Linked DNA regions of Homo sapiens: regions 2, 3, 4, 5, 6 and 7 are each linked to region 1. The links are contacts of gene promoters, found by promoter capture Hi-C in blood cells and fetal thymus (Javierre and others, 2016). All regions are on one chromosome and are shown on one strand. Each heading gives the region's core, a stretch centred on a gene start or on the middle of the fragment in contact. The rest is flanking DNA. Distances are from core to core; before and after follow the strand shown.

Region 1 (2,838 bases), core at 145-2,644:
GTTTTACATCCACCCCCACTGAACAGCCAGGGTAGGGAGATTCCAGTGAACTAGGTAACCCTTAACTTGCCCAGATGTCTACTTTTTGAGAACCCCATTTTTGTTTAAAGCTGCTAAAGTTAGAAAGTTGTTTCAGCTATAGAACAAGGCCATTATTTATGTTATCTCTTTGTTTACTGTGGTGATTCTCAATATTTTACAATTTTGCAATTTACTGGGGTTTTTTGTTTTGTTTTGTTTTGAGATGGAATCTTGCTCTATCACCCAGGCTGGAGTGCAGTGGCATGATCTTGGCTCACTGCAACCTCTGCCTCCCGGGTTCAAGCAATTCTCCTGCCTCAGCCTCCTGAGTAGCTGGGACTACAGGCGAGCACCATCACGCCTGGCTAATTTTTTTGTACTTTTAGTAGAGACGGGGTTTCACCATAGTAGAGACGGGGTTTCACCATGTTGTCCAGGCTGGTCTCAAACTTCTGACCTCAGGTGATCTGCCCGCCTTGGCCTCCCAAATTGCCGGGGTTACAGGCATGAGCCACTGCGCCCAGCCGCAGTTTATTGTTTTTGTTGTTGTTGTTGTTTGTTTTGTTTTTAAATTTCCCTTCCTGAGTTCATGATTATACCCTGACACTAACTAGCCATTTCTAATTGTCATGTTAAAAAAATTACACAAATTAAACTTTATTCTCTTTCTCTCTCTTTTTTTTTTTTTTCAATCTAAGAATTTCTTAATACTCTGCAAGATAACTAGAGGTCTCTAACTTACAGTTTTGTGCAGTTTTGGGCGAAGCTTAATGTAAAAATTTGGTTAAACTTGGTAATTGGGGAGAATGCTTTCTGAGTCTTGTTCCTCATTAATTTCTGGAAATTGACACCAAATCTAAAGGGAAGAACGAAGAAAGTCCTAGGCTGTTTGTTCTCCAAGCAGGCCTCCCCAGCCACTGTCTTGGCACCCCGTCTCATATCCGTTCCCTCTGTGGAAGAATTCAGCCAGCAGAACAGTGGTGAAAAGACATTGAGTTGGGGCCCAACTCAGGCCTTAAGGAAGCACTCTTCCTTTAGGAGGAGATGTTAGAAGTTTGTCCTTGTAGAGCTATAAAATGTATGCATAGAACAAGCATCATGCAATATTTTTAAAGGGTGGAAATTAAAATGTCAAGTGCAGCATAGTACAAATAGCAGGGAATATTTACAGAGTGACCAAGTGGTGAATTTTCATTACTGACTAATGAACTTCATTGATATCAGGTATGTGGTTGGATCTCAATTCTGATAAAGGAGTTTGCTAGGGTGTGTCAGAGATATAGACATGGTCTTTTCCAAAGTGATCATTTGAAAAAGAGATATCCACATCTTCAAGCCCATATAAAGGATAGAAGCTGCACAGGGCAGCTTTACTTACTCCAGCACCTTCCTCTCCCAGGCAAAATGAAAATACTTGTGAGTATTTGTTTCTGCTTCTTGATACTCTTGTGGTGACTGCTTGCAGACAATGCTCATATCTAATATGCCATGGATTTTGGGAGTCTTAGACAGATACTGTGCATGCTTCTAAGCTTCTGTGATTGAATTAATGACATCTTTGGCAGAAATAGTGTTGAATAAGTCTGACTTTTTTTGTCCTTTTCCTGTTTTGAGATGTTTACTTAAAAGAAAATTCAAAAATACAAAGAAATCTCTAGATAATTTTGATTTGGAGGATGTTTAATAATAATCCTTTATTATGAGCTTCATAGGGAATTTGGGCTATTTAAAACAACTACATTTGCTATCTAAGAGAGAAGCTGTAGTTTAAAAATAATATCAGTAATAGTAATAATAGTACCTCTCATTTCTCAAATGCATACTAAGCCTTAGACTAAGCATATCACATGAATAATTTCATCTATTCATTGCAACAACCCTATGAGTTGAGTAGTATTCTCCCCGTTTTACAGATAAGGAGACTGAGAGGCAGAGGAATGTGATTTTCCCAAGCCCGTAAATGTGGGATTTAGAATGTAATTTATCCATCTGAATCCCCACTTGCAGGCGCAATCATGGCAAATTTAAGCAGCCAGAGTGTCTTCAATGTCCTCTCATTATGACTAAATTCTCCCTTAGGACAAAACGTTCCTTCTATGGCCACTCCACCCCTCCATCTGATCCCAGCCTCCGTAGTTCCACATTGCAGTGCCCCATGGACAGTGGGCTATGTTCTGACCTAGAATGGAATTCGCTCCCCTAGTCTCTGTCCTTTATTCTCATTCAGCTGCTAAGGGAGAAAGCAAAATGTTAAGTACCTCTTTCTAAAGTGTTAAAGACTATCAGCTTAAAGAGCTCCCTCTCTCAGGGCTGTCTTGATTTTCCAAATTGAGACCTAACCCTGAAGCACAAAAGTATTATATAACCATGGTGTATTAACCACAGTGTTGGAAGGGAGATCATTTTGGGGCAGAGGACACTCCCCAAGCTCTCTCTAATCATACCATTAAAGTGGTTTAGTCCTTCGACTACTTGTTCAAACCACTATTTTAGACTCATTAACTAGAATATACGGGAGTATCATATGTTGCTGGAGCTGGTCTGTGGTAAGAGAAGATGTATCCCTATGGAAGGCTGAATATCAGCACACAGGTCTTTGTTAGATGCTCTACTCCCAGTCCCCAGAAGAGAAATATTAAGGGTGGGATGGAAAGGGAAGTAGGAAAGTCCCACTGACAGTTCTTAAAAATATCCCCCTTCCCCAAGACTCCTTTCATCAGCAGTTTTCAAATGACAGTGCAGTCAACTATGTACTGATGTAGTTTTCAGCGATAGTACAGTTCACTGATGTTCAGAAGAGAGGGTACAAAACCTGGG
Region 2 (2,838 bases), core at 159-2,658, 380 kb after region 1:
TCTCTGCTCACTTCATTGGCTGCTCCTTCTCAGTTTTCTTTGCTGGATTTTCCTCATCATCCTAATCTCTAAATTTTAGAGCTGGAACCTCTTCTCTAACTCACTCCTTAGATGATTCCATCCAGTCTTATGTCCTAAATTCCCAAATTCACATCTTAAGCCCTGACCTACTGCCCTGAATTCCAGACTCATTTATCTGGATACTTAAGCATTATCTGTACTTGGATGACTTACAGGCACCTGGAATATAACATTTCCAGAACATAACTCTTTAGTTGCTTTACCCAGATCTGGTCATTCTATTTATCAGTCTTGAATATATGACTTCTCTAATCATCCAACCATCTAGTTGTTTTAGCAAGAAATCTTGTAGTCATCCTTTAATATCCCTCACCGAGAACCCAACATCTAATACCTCAAGAGATCCTGTTAGCTTTACCTGCAAAGTAAATCCACCACTTCTGATCACATCCACTCTAATGCCCTGGCCCCAATACTATCATTTTCTTCCTGAATACAATATCCTCCTAACTGGCTCTCTTGCTTCCATTCTAGTCTATTCTTCACAAAAAAAAGTCAGAAAACCTTCCAATAGCTTTCTGTCTCACTCTAAATAAAATCTAAAGTCTTTATTTACAGGTCTCAGCTTTGAAGACTCTACTCAACTAGCCCACTGGTAGTTTTCTGATCTCATCCTATGCCATTCTGTTTACTCACACTGTTCCAATTCTATTTGCTCTTTGCTATTCCTAGAACAGTCCAAGCATGGTCATCACCAGGGATTTTAAATTCATGATTCCCAACGCCTGGCATATTCTTCCTTAGATAATCACCTGGCTTGCTCCCTCCTCCAAGCTTTGGCTCCAATGTCAAATTATCAGAGTGCTTCTTTTACCATCCTGACATGGCATTCCCCATACCATGTACACACCCTTGCTATTCTGTCCTCCTACACAGCTTATTTTTCTTCTAATTATCAACACATGACAACAAATAATTGCTTGTGTGTCCACTGCCCATCTGTGTACAATTCTGCAAGAGCAGGGCTTTGTTTCTACTGTGTCCTTAGCTCAGACAACAGCGCTTAACATGTGGGAGCACTTAATAAATATATTTGTTGAATATATCAATGAATGAATAAATGAACCATTTGCAAATCAACTACTGAACATCTTTAGTTTTACAGAAACTCTTATTTTAGCCTACACTTTTGATCACTAGCCTGCCAGTCAATATAATGAATTACATAAAAGACTTTAATTCTGCTAAATGAAGCCTCAGTGAACCCTGGAAATATTTAGCAACTTATTAAGAAGCCTCATTTGTTGAGGCAGTAAGACCACATTAATCGGAAGAATTTTGTTTGTTTACTCAGAAAAAAGTTTATATCTGTCATCACTTACATTTTATGTTTACCTTTACACATTCATGTTCTTCTTACAGGAAGTCCAGAATCTAACAAAACCATCTGTAACAGAATTCAACGTGGCTAGTAGCCAAATGTAATCCACCTTAACTCACATGAACAGGTACTTTTATACTTTAAGTGAAAACACTTGAAGAGCCAAGTCATGACATGAGCACAAAGTCAGCTCTAGAATTCAGCTCTGTGTCCTGTTAGTGGTGTCACACAGATCCTTCATAACAGGGTTATAAATGCTGACATGTGATTATCTTTGTGGGACCAATTATTTAATAGATTATACTGTGGAAAATTCAATTAATAACTTTAAATGTTATATAAAACAAATGCTACCTAGATGACTTTCCTTTTTAAAAAATTGCTAGTAGAGTCTGAAGGTGTTTTTAGAGAAATATCCAATTCTGCCTTTCAGTGTAACTGGGCCAAAAAAAAAAATTAAACTTTACTTACCTGGAAAATACTCTGAATACTGATTTTTACAATAACACACGTATTCTCATTACAATATTCCCAAGTAAATTTATCTTAGAAAGCTTCCTTTTTTTTTTTTTTTAATTTGGGTTAACACTTCTAAGTCCAGGTAAACTTGAAAGAAATAAGTCTTTTCTCTATTTTTGCCTAGAATGCTTATAAATTTCTTCCTGCTAGTTACTGCTGCTCTCATTTGATTGTCTATGAGAACCTGAAGTTGTTCCGGCTTTTTATCTGTTTTTATTGTAAAGCTGTTAAGTGATTTCTGAATCTGAAAGGAAACTGTCTTATTGAGATATCATTAGGACATGTTATGTGATAATGTGCATTCACATCTTACCCAACAAAAAGACTCTTTAAAATAGCACAGTTTAAGAGAAAGAGGACTAGACCAGGGGTTAGAAGTCCAACTATCTGTGTTATAAATGAACTCATGACAATGAACAAGTCACTTAACCTAATGGAAATTACTTTTTTTTTTTTTTTTTTTGAGACAAGGTCTCGCTTTGTTGCCCAGGCTGGAGTGCAATGGCACAATCTCGGCTCACTGCAACCTCTGTCTCCCGGGTTCAAACGATTCTCCTGCCTCAGCCTCCTGAGTAGCTGGGATTACAGGCCCCCGCCACCACGCCCAGCTACTTTTTGTATTTTTAGTAGAGATGGGGTTCCACCATTTTGGTCAGGCTGGTCTTGAACTCCTGACCTCAGGTGATCCACCCGCCTCGGCCCCCCAAAGTGCTAGGATTACAGGTGTGAGCCACTGTGCCTGGCCGGAAATTACTTTTTAAACTACACATCAAACATTAAATGATCACAAAGATATTTCTAACTCCAGAGTTCTAATTTTAAGGCCACAACAGGAACCTTTATTTTCTCTACAAATCAGTGAAGTAAAATGAAATGTGGACAGGGATTGACAGCTTGACTACTTGAAGCCAGCACTG
Region 3 (2,838 bases), core at 210-2,709, 370 kb before region 1:
AGAGATGGGGTTTCATGTTGGCCAGGCTGGTGTCGAACTCCTGACCTGAAGTGATCCACCTGCCTCAACCCCCCAAAGTTCTGGGATTACAGGCATGAGCCACCCCGCCTGGCCCAGATACTTAGAGCTTTAAGAAGACCAAGGTCATAGATCTCATATTGGGCAGAACCAAGACCAGAACTGAGGTCTTGGTCTCCACATCCTGTCTTCTTTTAGTTAACATATGCTGTTCCTTTTTAATTTAATACTTCTAAAACATTTAAAAATGTATTTTAAAATATTTTTAAATATATATTTCAGCTGGTTGCAGTGGCACATGACTGTAGTCCCAGCTACTCTGGGGACTGAGGCAGGAGGATCACTTGAGTCCAGGAGTTTGAATACAGCCTGGGTAGCATAGTGAGACCCTGTCTCTAAAACAGTAAATAAAATAAATTAAAAAAAATTACACACACGCGATATATTTCAGGGGAAATCTAACATCTAGGTTTTATTTTAATATTATATAATTGAGTTTTCTTCAGATCAGTTGGCTTTATATATAAATTCCAAAAGATATTATTCCCTAAGCACAATGTGGTGGTAATGAACTTGAGCTTTGAAGTTAGGCAAACCTGCAGTCAAGTACTAAGCCTGGTATTTCTTAGTTGCATGAGTTTAAACAAATTACTGGATCCCATAACGCTTCTGTTTCCTCGACTATAAGTAATAACAATCAGATTTACTACACAGGAATTTAAAGAAGTCTGTCCGTGAGGCTTCATATGGATTATGCAGTGCAATTTTTGCACATTCGTAAGCTATAGCCCTGCCTTTGCCCACCAGTGATGTTGTGTATGTGTGTGATTTTCTTTCCTAGGGGCGGCCTGTGGTAATTTGTGATAAGGAGGATACTGAGACCATTAAGAACACAAAAAGAACGATCAAGGTGCCCCACTCAGTGGACTGCTTGCAGGGCATTCTCAGCGTGATCCCTTTACAGTTGCTGGCTTTCCACCTTGCTGTGCTGAGAGGCTATGATGTAAGTCATCTACCACTGCAGAAATCTTGGGATGGTTTTTTACCTGGATACATTCTGATTTTTTTCTCCTAAATTTTTAACAATAGTGTTTGAGAAATCTATCAAATATATATCTGTCACCTGTTATATTTTCATGGCCCAATTTGTAGGTTACATCACAACATCTTCTTACCCATAGAACTTGAAGGAACCTTGGGGTTCACCTCCAAGATTGTGACTCACCTTGGGTAGTCTCCACCTGTTTTCTTAATATAACCTCTATCTCTTAACAGGGCAGCTATTGGCATTTGGCAGGACAATTCTTTTTTGTTTGGAACTGTCCCACACATTGAAGACTTTGTAGCATTCCTGGTTTCTCAGCCATTGTGGCAACCAAAACATAGTGCTTTTGTTTTTAGTGTCCCCTATGAGGGCTACTACTTCTGTAGAGGACCACAGTAGCTCTTTCTGTGTGAACTGGCACCTTTAGAATGCTTTTTCCTAACCAATTTCAGTTTTTTTCAGGACACATTATGTGATTATATTTTCTAATCTAATTCTTTGTAGTCTGTAATAAAGATGGTTAATGAATGTATTGTTTTCTGTTTTTATAAACAAAAATAATTTGCTTATAGTAACCACCCCCTTCCCCAGTCTATATAATCTCTCAAATCTTGCTTTTTTTTTTTTTCTTTTTGCAGGTTGATTTCCCACGGAATCTTGCCAAATCTGTGACTGTAGAGTGAGGAATATCTATACAAAATGTACGAAACTGTATGATTAAGCAACACAAGACACCTTTTGTATTTAAAACCTTGATTTAAAATATCACCCCTTGAAGCCTTTTTTTAGTAAATCCTTATTTATATATCAGTTATAATTATTCCACTCAATATGTGATTTTTGTGAAGTTACCTCTTACATTTTCCCAGTAATTTGTGGAGGACTTTGAATAATGGAATCTATATTGGAATCTGTATCAGAAAGATTCTAGCTATTATTTTCTTTAAAGAATGCTGGGTGTTGCATTTCTGGACCCTCCACTTCAATCTGAGAAGACAATATGTTTCTAAAAATTGGTACTTGTTTCACCATACTTCATTCAGACCAGTGAAAGAGTAGTGCATTTAATTGGAGTATCTAAAGCCAGTGGCAGTGTATGCTCATACTTGGACAGTTAGGGAAGGGTTTGCCAAGTTTTAAGAGAAGATGTGATTTATTTTGAAATTTGTTTCTGTTTTGTTTTTAAATCAAACTGTAAAACTTAAAACTGAAAAATTTTATTGGTAGGATTTATATCTAAGTTTGGTTAGCCTTAGTTTCTCAGACTTGTTGTCTATTATCTGTAGGTGGAAGAAATTTAGGAAGCGAAATATTACAGTAGTGCATTGGTGGGTCTCAATCCTTAACATATTTGCACAATTTTATAGCACAAACTTTAAATTCAAGCTGCTTTGGACAACTGACAATATGATTTTAAATTTGAAGATGGGATGTGTACATGTTGGGTATCCTACTACTTTGTGTTTTCATCTCCTAAAAGTGGTTTTTATTTCCTTGTATCTGTAGTCTTTTATTTTTTAAATGACTGCTGAATGACATATTTTATCTTGTTCTTTAAAATCACAACACAGAGCTGCTATTAAATTAATATTGATATATTCAGTATTCTCTTCAACTTTGTCACGAGGAAGAATTTCCTGTAGTTAATTTTAACTTTCCTTCATTACATTGTTGCATAAAACTAGTCCCTTAGTGCCAGTTTGGAAGTTACTTGCAATTGTTTGGAAGATTTGCAGGTCGCTGACCTCATCATTTCACTCTAAGTATATGTGGTA
Region 4 (2,838 bases), core at 111-2,610, 360 kb after region 1:
TCAAATTATAGTCAACATTCGTCTACGGTCAACACTGCTTCTCAATGAATTCTAAAGCTTCTTCCAGCAGGAAAATTAAATGATTATGATATCTTTACTACTTTCTTCCAATACATATTTTCCAGTGACCATGATGGTACAGAAATACCATCAGGGCTTACTGTCTGACACGGGGTTAATGAGCAATATAGAAAAGTTCATCAATTCAGGAAACTACCTAAAGGTCATGATTAATTACATTTTCAATAGCCTTTAATTTTTTTCAGGATAACGATGGTCATAAAGAAAAAATGATTTTTAAATTATATTGAATTAAATTAAAATGATATAACTAAAAACAGAAAACAAAGATGCAAATGTATACTTAATACCAAAGAAAGTCTTATTTTTAAGTTTCTATCTCTCCTTTAGACACATATCAGCATATGTAATGACACATTTCATTAACATGCATGTACAATCTTCATCATTTCCACTTGGAGTTCTTTTTAAGCTTTTTAATAATTTGAGTGCTATTAATGGTTATGATAGAAATGTTTATGCTTCCCATGTATGGATTTATTATTCAGCTGACATGGGCTTGGATTTTGTTGGTTATAGTGTAACTCACTTTCTCTTCTAGAATATTCATTTTCTCAAAGTCACAAGATATACATTTAGTTTAGTAGAACAAATATTTACAGATAATCAGACATGTATATAGCACTGGGCTAGGTATTATGTGAGAAAAAGAGAACACAGCCCATTCCCTCAAGAAAAGTAGACCATCGGTGACACTTCTAACATGACCACTTCTTCCCTATTGAGACAGGGCTGTCAGCTAGAAGTTAGGGAGCCCTGAAGAGCTCTAGATGTCCTTGGTAATACTTCCTCTTCCCTGCCTTCAGGATGCCCCAAGCCTTGGCTGCCCACGGACAAATCCAGGTTGGAAGCTGCAATGAGAGCTCAGTACCCTGTATCACAACTTATCCCAACATGCTGTCACCCGTTTGCTTCAGTCACCACCAGGATCCAAGATGCCAGTTCACTTATTCCTCATCTATTATCTTATACCTGTGTGTTCAACAGGTATACAAATATGACTCAGTTTCTCACTCCTTCACAACCCTAAACTCTTGACCTTTGTAACTCACAGCCTGTCATTTGCAAAATCCCCTAAATGCTCACCTCTTCTCTGAACATTCCCATGATCTAGCCCTACACAATCTGGCTCCTGCCTACTTCTACCAGAGGAAGCCCTCTCCCACCCCTCCTCTCCACCTTGATCCTTCTACCATAAGCACTCTAGTTTTCCTGCTGTTTCTGGAACTCCCCAGGCTCCTTCCTGCCCGTGGCCTTTGTACTTGTCAGCTCCGTTTGGTATACTCTCTTCCTACACCTTCTCCTGGCCACTGCCTTGTTCACTCAGGTCTGTATTCACACATCACTCCTCAGGGAGGCCTTTCCTGACCACGGATCTAAAACAGCCACCACCCCTCACACCTATCGCAAGCTCCCACCCCACCATTCTCTATGCTTTTCCCCTGCTTTATTTCTATAGCACTTATTACACCTATCGTAGTCTCTATTTTGTTGGTGTATTTCCTGTTATCTCATTATACTATAAACTCCATTTGGGAAAGAACGTTGTCTCATTCATCTCTGCATCTTCTATGCCAAGAACAATGTCTGTGGCAGTTCCAGCTGCTCAACAAGTATGTGTTGAATGAATGAGTGAATGAGTATTTCAGAATTTTCAGAATGCCCCAGAAAAAAATTCATGGTTATATAAGTTTTAGAAACAGTAGATATATAAACCCAGTTTTAAAGACTCACAGGACACATTTGCTTATGCAAGGCTATGTCAAGTCTCAAAGCAACAAACCCATTTAATTCCGCATTTCAAAATTAATTTCATCATGGTACCCTTTTTAAGCCTCACCTATAAATATCTATAGAATCAGAATTCCATTTGGGAAAGATTGCTGTTGGCAACTGAAATCTGTTGAGGATACTTTAGAGGAGAATGACATCTCTTGACCTCTGGACAATCCCCTACTTCCTTCCCTTTCTTCCATCTCCAATTTCCTAATTTCTTTTATAGGCCAGAACAGAACCCACTCTCAGGAGTCTGGGCACTGGGAATCTGGGGCTCACTTAAGAGAAAGTCTCTCTGTTGGTGGACACTCAAGAGACTCTGTTACCCAAAGAGCTACACTGAGGTGAGCAATGTGTCACCCAAGCTTATCTCACATGGGTGACAGGAACCTCCAGTACAGCAGTATCCAGCCTTGCCCCAGTTCCAGCCTCCTCCAACATAAAACTCCCTTCCTCATGGTAAGATATGAGGGTTGGAGGCCATTGTTAGGAGAGTGAGGGTAAATCCCCTTGCCTCTTCAACTTGCTACTTTTTACCATTTTTACATGTATCCTGGGAGTTAGGTTTAAAGGCTTAATTAGATTCAGGTTAACATTTTTGGCAAGGGTGGAGTCAGCTCCTTCTTTGGGCGAACTCTGATGGAAGTTATCTGTGATCTGCCCCTCGGTGGGACCTGGCTGCACTCTCTTTTCCACGTCACCTCCATTGAGTATCAGGTCTGACTTGGGCTCAGAAGCTGAGTCTGGTGGCCTCATGTATTCATTGCCTGTTACATATAAACTGAAGTTCACAGCATTCTCTGTCTCCTTGGTATGCTGTAGGCATGGGCTACAGTTAATTTTATTTTCTCTTTACCAATTAAAACGATGCTTTCCCCAAATAAAGCATATTATTATTTTAAAATTTATGGACCCTGTGAATTTTACAACTGACTTTCCCCCTTGTTTGGGAAGACTGAGAGCTGGATTTGCTCCTCTATA
Region 5 (2,838 bases), core at 230-2,729, 340 kb after region 1:
GGGTGGATGGAAGCCATCTTTGACTTCCCTACAGGACCAAGAGTGTTCCTGAGGGTTTATTTTGTTACCTCTAGAAATGTGATTTTTAATGAGTTTTGCATCAGAATCACCTGAGGAATGTTTTCATTATACATATGCCTGAGATTCACCACTCCAGTGAAACCCTGTCTCTACTAAAAATACAAAAACATTAGCTGGGCATGGTGGCGGGTGCCTGTAGTCCCAGCTACTCGGGAGGCTGAGGCAGGAGAATGGCGTGAACCCAGGAGGCGGAGCTTGCAGTGAGCTGAGATTGCACCACTGCACTCCAGTCTGGGTGACAGAGCGAGACTCTGTCTCAAAAAAAAAAAGAAAAAAAGAAAATTAAAAACAAAAACCATATGATTATCTCAATAGATGCAGGGAAAAGTTTTTGATAAAATCCAACATCCCTTCATAATAAGAATGCTCAACAGACTAGGCATCAAAGGAACTTATCTCAAAATAATTAGAGCCATCTATGATAAACCCACTGCCAACATCATACTGGATGGGCAAAAGCTGAATGTACTCCCCTTAAGAACAGGAAGAAGACAAGGCTCCCCTCTCTCACCACTCCTATTCAACATAGTAATAGAAGTCCTAGCCAGAGCAATAAGACAAGAGAAAGAAATAAAAAGCATCCAAATAGAAAAAGAAGTCAAAATATGTCTCTTTGCTGATGATATGATTCTATACCTAGAAAACTCTAAAGATTCCACCAAAAGGCTCCTATAACCGATAAATGACCTCACTAAAGTTTCAGGCTACAAAATCAATTTCAACAGGCATTAGCATTTCTAGACACCAATAATGTTCAAGCTGAGAGCCAAATAAAGAATACAATCTCAATTACAATAGCCACCCAAAAATAAAATACTTAGAAATACAAAAACCAAGGAGATAAAATATATCTACAAGGAGAAATCCAAAACACTGCTGAAAGAAATCACAGATGACACTACCAAATGGAAAGACATTCCATGCTCATGGATTGAAAGAATATCATTAAAATGGTCCAACTGCACAAAGCAATCTACAGAGTCAATGCTATTCCTATCAAACTGCCAATGTTATTTTTCACAGAATTAGAAAAAACTATCTAAAATTCATATGGAACCAAAAAAGATCCTCAATAGCCAAGATAATCCTAAACAAAAAGAACAAAGCTGAAAGCATCACATTACCCAACTTCAAAGTATATAAGGCTACAGAAACCAAAACAGCATGGTGCTGGTACAAAATAGCCATATAAACTACCAAAATATCTGGAATGCAATGAAAACAAAAGCAGTGTTAAGAGAGAAGTTTATAGTGCTAAATGCTTACATCAAGAAGTTAGAACGATCTCAAATTTGGAATAGAGAACCCAGTCATAAAGCTACTTACCTACAGCCATCTAATCTTTGACAAAGCTGACAAAAAGAAACAATGGGAAAATGACTTCCCATTCAACAAATAGTGCTGGGATACCTAGCTAGCCATATGCAGAAGAATGAAACTGGACATTTACCTTTCACCATATACAAAAATAAACTGAAGATGGATTAATGATTTAAGCATAAGACCTCGAACTATAAAAATTCTAGAAGAAAACCTATGAAATACCATTCTGAACATGGGCCTTGGAAAGGAATTTATGACTAAGTCCTCAAAAGCAGTTGCAACAAAACAAAAAATTGACAGTTAAACTAAACAGTTTCTGTAAAGCAAAAGAAACTATCAACAGAGCAAATAGACAACCTACATAATGGGAGAAAATATTTGCAAACTATCATCTGACAAAGGTGGAATATCCAGAATCTATAAGGAAATTTAACAATTCAACAAGCAAAAAACAAATAAAACAACCCCATTTAAAAATGTGCGAAAGACGTGAATAATCACTTCTCAATGCAAGTGGCCAATAAATATATTTTTAAATGCTCATCATTACTAATCATCTGACAAATGCAAATTGAAACAACAACAAGATACCATCTCACACCAGTCAGAAGGCCTATTATTAAAAAGTCAAAAAACAACAGATGCTGGTGAGGCTGTGGAGAAAAGGAACATTTATATACTATTGGTGGGAATGTAAATTAGTTCAGTAGCTGTGGAAAGCAGTTTGAAGATTTCTTGAAGAACTTAAAACAGAACTACCATTCAACCCAGCAGTCCCATTACTGGGTATATACACAAAGGAAAATAAATCATTATACCAAAAATACACATACACTTGTGTGTTCATTGCAGCACTATTCACAATAGCAAAGACATGGAATCAGCCTTGTTGCCCATAAACAGTGGATTTGATAAAGAAAATGTGGTACATATTTATTTCTATACACCATGAAATATACACAACAATAAAAAGAATGACATAATATCTTTTACAGGAGCATGGATATAGCTGGAGGCCATATCCTAAGCAAATTAACACAGAAACAAAAAAACAAATACCACATGTTCTCATTTATAAGTGGTACCTAAACATTGGATCCACATGGACAAAACAACAGACACTATGGACTACTAGCAGAGGGAGGGAAGGGAGCAAAGGTTGAAAAACTACATATTATACCCAGCTCAGTACATGAGTGACAGGATCATTCACACCTCAGACCTCAGCATCACACAACATACCAATTGACAAATCCACCCACATACCCCCAAATCTAAAATAAAAGCTGAAATTATAAAAAAAGAAAGTCTCTAAGAATATATTGAAATGCATATTAAAACTATTAAGGCAGCTTATTTAATGGCCCAATAAAAGATCAGCATAGGAAAATTAAGTTGTTTCCTTATTCATAGCAATAGCAATAACTAATCAGA
Region 6 (2,838 bases), core at 202-2,701, 340 kb before region 1:
CACCCATTGAATTGGGAAGATGCCAAGAAAGTTTGCTTGTGCTTAGGTTCTGGGTGAAAAAATAAAATCCTTTTGTGAGAAAGTAAAATCCCAAGTATATGCTTTGAGAGGTTGGAAGACTGAATTTATACTGTCTGTGAGTTATGAACATCATAAATTAAGAGATGCACGTGAAGAGTGGGCCTGTGTATGTTACTGCTGAGGATACATGCTGACATAGATGGAAAATCACTCTGGTCATAAAAGATTTCCATCGAAAAATCAAGCTCAGTTGAAGATGAGCGTTCAGTAAAAAATTACAATATATCTGATAGACCCACCATAAACAAGAGTTTTCAGACACTTGTAGGGAGGTCAGCAACCTCAAACCCTAGATCATAGAAAAACAATTTGAAAGAGACCATCAAAGATAGGGATGTTTAAATGATTAAAGAGATACACAGGCTGGGTGTGGTGGCTCACACCTATAATCCCGGCACTTTGGGAGATTGAGGCAGGAGGCAGGAGGATCAATTGAGCCCAGAAGTTTGAGACCAGTCTGGGTGACATATGGAGGCCCTGCCTCTACAAAAAATAAAAAACTAGCTGGTGTTGTGGTATATACCTGTAGTCCCAGCGACTCAGTAGGCTGACATGGGAGGGTCGCTTGAGCCCAGGAGGTCAAGGCTGCAAGGAGCTGTGATTGTGCCACTGCACTCCAGCCTGGACAAGAGAGCAAGACTCTGTTTCAACAAATAAATAAAAAACAAAAAAGCCACAATGAAAGAATAATACATTATGAAAAGGAATGGGAGTAACACTGACAATGAAACATATTTGTGTTTATGTTCAGATTTCAGAAATAAGTAGACTAAAACTGAGGATAACAGGTTGTCACCAAAATAAAACACAAACATACAACAACACCAACAATTCAACAACACCTCCACCAGTCCCTAAAAAAAGCAACTCAAAGTAAAAAATTCCAAAATACAGGTCTTGGAAAGAGAAAACAGAATGCTTACATCTTGTTCTTGCGTATGTCAGCCCACTGAACTTAGTACAGTTTATATACCCTTATAAAATATGCCAGCTGGCATTAGGATTATCATGAAGGAAAAACAATGCAGACACCAAATTGGGTTACCTAGGATACAAAAATAACATTTTTATTATAACAATATGATAATGGAAGGAATTGAGAATACTGTACCAGTACGGTCCTTGGATGAGCAGCCCCATAAAACCATACAGTGGGAGATAGTGAGTGGAGAATTTGGGTGGAGTCATGGGATGGAAAAAGAACATTACAAAGAAATCATGTAGGGTGTACATTCAAGCATACATGTTCGAGAACTTTGGTACTAAACATGCCTGATGATCAGCCACCATCAACATAACAACTTAGAGTTAGCTTGCCTCCTCCACTCCAGTGTTGCTATAGAGACTGTAGAGTCCACTTTCTTGTTAGTCCCTATGAGCTGAGTTGGGATTGTCATGGTTGTAGAAAAAAGAAAAAGCTGAAAAGAAAAAAAATTATCATTATTTGAGATTATTTGATGGCCAAAATAGAACATTTATGAGAACCTACAGGTAAAATATTAGAAATAACAAGAATGTTTAGTAAGGTTACTGGAAATGAGCAATATACAAAATAATCAGTAAAGGCTAGGAGTGGCTCACGTCTGTAATCCCATCACTTTGGGAGGCTGAGGAAAGTGGATTGCTTGAACCCAGGAGTTCAAGACCAGCCTGGACAACATGGTGAAACCCCGTTTCTACAAAAAAAAAAACCCACAAAACAAAATTAGCCAGACATGGTAGCATGTGCCTGTGGTCCCAGCTACTCAGGGGGCTGGGGTGGGAGGATGGCTTGAGCCCAGGAGATCAAGGCTGCAGTGAGCTGTGATTGCACTGCTGCACTCCAGCCTGGGTGACAGAGCGAGACATTGTCTCAAAGCAACAATGACAATAAAACCAAAAAAATCAGTAGCAAAATTTAGAAAATTTACTTAAAATACATTTAAAACAACAATAGCAACAACAAAAACTGAATATGCACATCTATTATATATCAATAAAAAATAAAAACACTATGAACTTCTAGAAAGAAATATGAGGATAAGACCTTTAAAGAAAAGGTGAAAACAATTTTTTGAAAGACATGAAACAAGACCAGGTAGTTGGGAGACAAAATATATTCATGGATAAAAAGTCTTTGTACATAAAATGTCAATTTTTGTCCAAATCAAATTAAAGTTAATTCAATTCTAACAAAAATGTCCAAGAGAGTTTTTCACAGAACTTGACAAAATAGGTCCAAAAATTCATATAAAAGAGGAAACAGTTATAAATTTCAAAAATCTTAATCATAATAATGCTGATAATGAGAAATACGCCCTCAGATTTCAAAAAATTTTGCAAGCTATAGAAAGTTAAACAGTGTAATATTGGCATAGAAATAGTAAAAGCTACCAATGGGACAGCCTGGAGAGTGTAGAAAAAGACTTATGTATATTAAGAATTTGGTTTATGACACAAGTAGCATTCAAAGCAGTATGAAGAAAGAATAATAAATTGGTCTTGAACAATAAACTATGAAAAAAGAAAAAATAGGATTCCCACCTCACTATACGTAACACATGTGTGCACATGCATATATACACAATTCCAGCTGGATTAAAATCTATAGAATGTAAAATTTTGAAATGTTAAGAAAATATAGACTAATTGTTACAACTTCAGGATATGGAAAAATGTTTTAAACTGGACAGCATAGGCAAAAAAGAAATTTGATAAATTTGACTTCATGAAAATGGGAAGATACTTACTCTGTAACCCAACCTGGAGTGCAGTGGT
Region 7 (2,838 bases), core at 239-2,738, 330 kb after region 1:
CTGAGCAAGAGTGCTTACTTCCAAATGCTCCATCTATTCTGCAGTTGCCTCCTCTCCTGATTGACATGTAGCAGCAGCACAAGCTATTTCCACCACAGCTGAGCTGGTAGGAGCATTAGTCACAGATGAAGAAAACCTAGGTTGGCTTGACTGCTTGATAGCTGCCATATCCTGGCCGTATACCCTACTGATTTTGAGACTTTCCTTTGAGGCCTCTGGCTTGCCCTGCCTGCCATAAAAATTTGTCTTGTCTTCATCTTGAATGGTACTTGGATTTGTTGCAGGAACTGATTCAGAGCTGTGGGGTGGGAGGTGGGGCTACTCTCAGTCTCAGCACATGTGTTCTGGCTTTCCAGATCTATTTCAGGTTCTGGATCTGCCTGAATTTTCTGCACATCACATGGAGACATGGATGACTTCTTGGGCTGCTGCCAGAAGAGATGCTTCAAGCCTTGGCCAATCACATTAAAGTACTCCAGAGCACTATGGGTCATTCTAGACAATTTGTTTTCTGACTCTGTCTGCTTCCTGGCCTTTGCATCTGCAAAGTAGAAAATGTGGCATTTTCTACTTTGAAAACTTTTCATTTTCTTGATGATATTTTCCCCTTATCTCTCCTCCTCTAATTAAGGAAAGACTGCAACCAAACTATCCCTCCCTGATACAGGACACTGTACCAATAGAGCAGTCCCTCCTCCATCCTACCTCAATCACACCCTGTGGTTCTTTATAACACAGTATATCTTTGATGCTAACTGTCACCAGGAAACCTTTCTCCTTAACCCAATGAAACAATAATCGTCTTTCACTAATGTCTTAGCCGTGTGATTGTGTGACTAGATTATACTTGGAGTCAGTAACAGAAAACAAACCACATACACTAATTATAAAATCTTTGGATCTGTTTTTAATTCCATGCAACTGATGTGGTAAAGTGACAGAAGATGAGCTAAACACAAATCTGGATTTTGTTCTGTCACTATCTGGGTGGCCTTAAAAATGCTACTTGGCCTCTCTGGGTCTCAATTTTCTCACTCATTCAGAAAAATATCATTTGATTACCCTCTATGTGCCAGGTCCTGTGTTAATCACAGGTAAAGAAGACATGATCTAGACTCTGTTGGTAGGGAAGATAAATAAAAAGAAAGAAAAGAACAGAAGGGAGGGAGGGAGGGAGGGAAGGAAGGAAAGAAGGAAGGAAGGAAAGAAGGAAGGAAGGGAGGGAGGGAAGGAGGGAGGAAGGGAGGGAGGAAGGAAGGAAAGGTGAGAGGGAGGGAGACAAGGAGAAAGGGAAGGAAGGAGCAAGTAAATATATAATAATAAATTTTAACATAAAATTTGTGCTTTTCAAACTTTTACTTTAGCCAAAATACTATTTGTTCAAGACAAATCTAACGTAGCAGCACTGACTTGCAAAATACGGCATGGCCCCACCATGTTGATCTCTACCACTCTCTCCTATGGCACTCTGCCCTTGTTCATCCCACCTCTGCCACTGTGGTCTTGTCATTCCTGAATCATGCTAACTCACTCCCAACTCAGGGTCTTGCCACCTGCTGCTTCCCCTGCTTGGAACATTTCCCCCATATCTTCAGATGACCTGACCTTCATTTCATTCATATCTTTGCTTAAATATCACCTCAGAGAGGACACCTCTGATAACCCTATCTAAAATCATTTTGTGTTCCCCAGTGCCTTCCTACCTTGTTCTGCTTTATTTTTTTATCATTTATTTCCACTTGAAATTATATGTTTTTTCATTTTTATTTTCTCTCTCATCAATGTAAATTCCATGACAAGGTCTCTGCTTTCCTAATTTCTCTTTGTAACTTCTTTTATCAGGCCAGACTCATAGTAGGAGCTCCATTAATATTTGTCAAATGAACATTAGGAGAGAGATGACTAAAGGGGGAATGGTTCTGTTGAAACATTGAGATAGGAAGCTAAGTCCTGTGCAATCTATTTCCTCCCCATGTAGCCCCTGAGGACACTTTCAGGTCTAACACTGCAGGACACAAATTATTTCATCAGGAAAGAGGTCTTAAACATTAAACTTTATTTTTTATTCATTTTTAAATTCCAAAACATGTACTCTGTTCTAGAATAAAAGCTATGCTATGTGCTTGGTCTCAAGGAGACAATAACATTATCTATTCTGTTTGGAGTTTATTGTCTAGCTATAAAAAATTAATCTAAATTAATGGGATGATATGATAGAGAAGCTGGGGCACACAGAAGACAGAGTAACTGCCTGCAGGACACCTTACATTTCTCCTCCATAAAAGGGATGTTTACTTCTCAGCTACAAAGTTTACTATAAGAATAAAATGAGAAGATGGATATGAAAGTGTTTGAAATACTGCAGAACATCCTCAAAAATCCAGTGTGAGTATGATTATTCAAGATTAAATAGAACATCAGGAAAAATGGCAGAGTAAGAAACTCAGGAGTTTTGCCCCCTATGAAAGCAACAAAAAATAAACTGTCAAAATCTTTCAACATTAACTTTTTTGGAACTCTGGAAATTAGCCAGAGATTGAGTAATATAAGAACTTATTCAAAAAAAACTAGGTAAGGGCCAGGCGTGGTGGCTCACACCTGTAATCCCAGCACTTTGGGAGGCCAAGGCAGGTGGATCACAAGGTCAAGAGATCGAGACCATCCTGGCTAACATGGTGAAACCCCGTCTCTACTAAAAATACAAAAACTAACCAGGTGTGGTGGCATGTGGCATAGTCCCAGCTACTCAGAAGGCTGAGGCAGGAGAATCGCTTGAACCCAGGAGGCGGAGGTTGTAGTGAGCTGAGATGGCACCACTGCACTCCAGCCTGGTGACAG

Evidence for each region. The method cuts DNA at HindIII sites, captures the fragments that hold promoters and counts their contacts. A CHiCAGO score of 5 or more calls a contact.
Region 2: a fragment that was not itself captured here is called in contact with the fragment with the promoter of GKN2 in region 1 in 7 of 17 cell types (total CD4 T cells, activated CD4 T cells, total CD8 T cells and 4 more); the score reaches 8.7 in total CD4 T cells.
Region 3: a contact is called between a fragment that was not itself captured here and the fragment with the promoter of GKN2 in region 1, in 6 of 17 cell types (M2 macrophages, M1 macrophages, megakaryocytes and 3 more). The highest score is 8.5, in M2 macrophages.
Region 4: a contact is called between a fragment that was not itself captured here and the fragment with the promoter of GKN2 in region 1, in 3 of 17 cell types (activated CD4 T cells, total CD8 T cells and naive CD4 T cells). The highest score is 9.7, in activated CD4 T cells.
Region 5: a contact is called between a fragment that was not itself captured here and the fragment with the promoter of GKN2 in region 1, in 5 of 17 cell types (activated CD4 T cells, non-activated CD4 T cells, naive CD4 T cells and 2 more). The highest score is 7.6, in activated CD4 T cells.
Region 6: a fragment that was not itself captured here is called in contact with the fragment with the promoter of GKN2 in region 1 in 3 of 17 cell types (megakaryocytes, M1 macrophages and M2 macrophages); the score reaches 6.1 in megakaryocytes.
Region 7: a fragment that was not itself captured here is called in contact with the fragment with the promoter of GKN2 in region 1 in 7 of 17 cell types (non-activated CD4 T cells, activated CD4 T cells, naive CD4 T cells and 4 more); the score reaches 10.6 in non-activated CD4 T cells.

The regions. Positions count from the first base shown.
Region 1 is chr2:68,951,449-68,954,286 of GRCh38, reverse strand. It overlaps GKN2 (gastrokine 2), which reads left to right and starts at 1,394. Exons shown (of 6, transcript NM_182536.3): 1 at 1,394-1,437. The coding sequence starts at 1,426. The HindIII fragment of the contact is 766 bases long and covers 790-1,555 here.
Region 2 is chr2:68,573,219-68,576,056 of GRCh38, reverse strand. All of the region lies in intron 9 of APLF (aprataxin and PNKP like factor), which reads right to left. Among named protein-coding and RNA genes, the nearest start is that of PROKR1, 69 kb to the left of the region's middle. The HindIII fragment of the contact is 1,101 bases long and covers 858-1,958 here.
Region 3 is chr2:69,325,097-69,327,934 of GRCh38, reverse strand. GFPT1 (glutamine--fructose-6-phosphate transaminase 1) reads left to right here. Exons shown (of 20, transcript NM_001244710.2): 19 at 860-1,021; 20 at 1,702-2,838. The coding sequence ends at 1,746. Among named protein-coding and RNA genes, the nearest start is that of GFPT1, 61 kb to the left of the region's middle. The HindIII fragment of the contact is 9,540 bases long and covers 1-2,838 here.
Region 4 is chr2:68,591,122-68,593,959 of GRCh38, reverse strand. No RefSeq gene overlaps it. Among named protein-coding and RNA genes, the nearest start is that of PROKR1, 51 kb to the left of the region's middle. The HindIII fragment of the contact is 1,729 bases long and covers 496-2,224 here.
Region 5 is chr2:68,607,791-68,610,628 of GRCh38, reverse strand. No RefSeq gene overlaps it. Among named protein-coding and RNA genes, the nearest start is that of PROKR1, 34 kb to the left of the region's middle. The HindIII fragment of the contact is 3,272 bases long and covers 1-2,838 here.
Region 6 is chr2:69,288,156-69,290,993 of GRCh38, reverse strand. LOC124907821 (a long non-coding RNA gene) reads right to left here. Exons shown (of 2, transcript XR_007086810.1): 1 at 2,811-2,838; 2 at 1,118-1,499. Among named protein-coding and RNA genes, the nearest start is that of GFPT1, 98 kb to the left of the region's middle. The HindIII fragment of the contact is 4,347 bases long and covers 1-2,838 here.
Region 7 is chr2:68,624,766-68,627,603 of GRCh38, reverse strand. It overlaps the pseudogene LOC100379290. Among named protein-coding and RNA genes, the nearest start is that of PROKR1, 17 kb to the left of the region's middle. The HindIII fragment of the contact is 3,535 bases long and covers 1-2,838 here.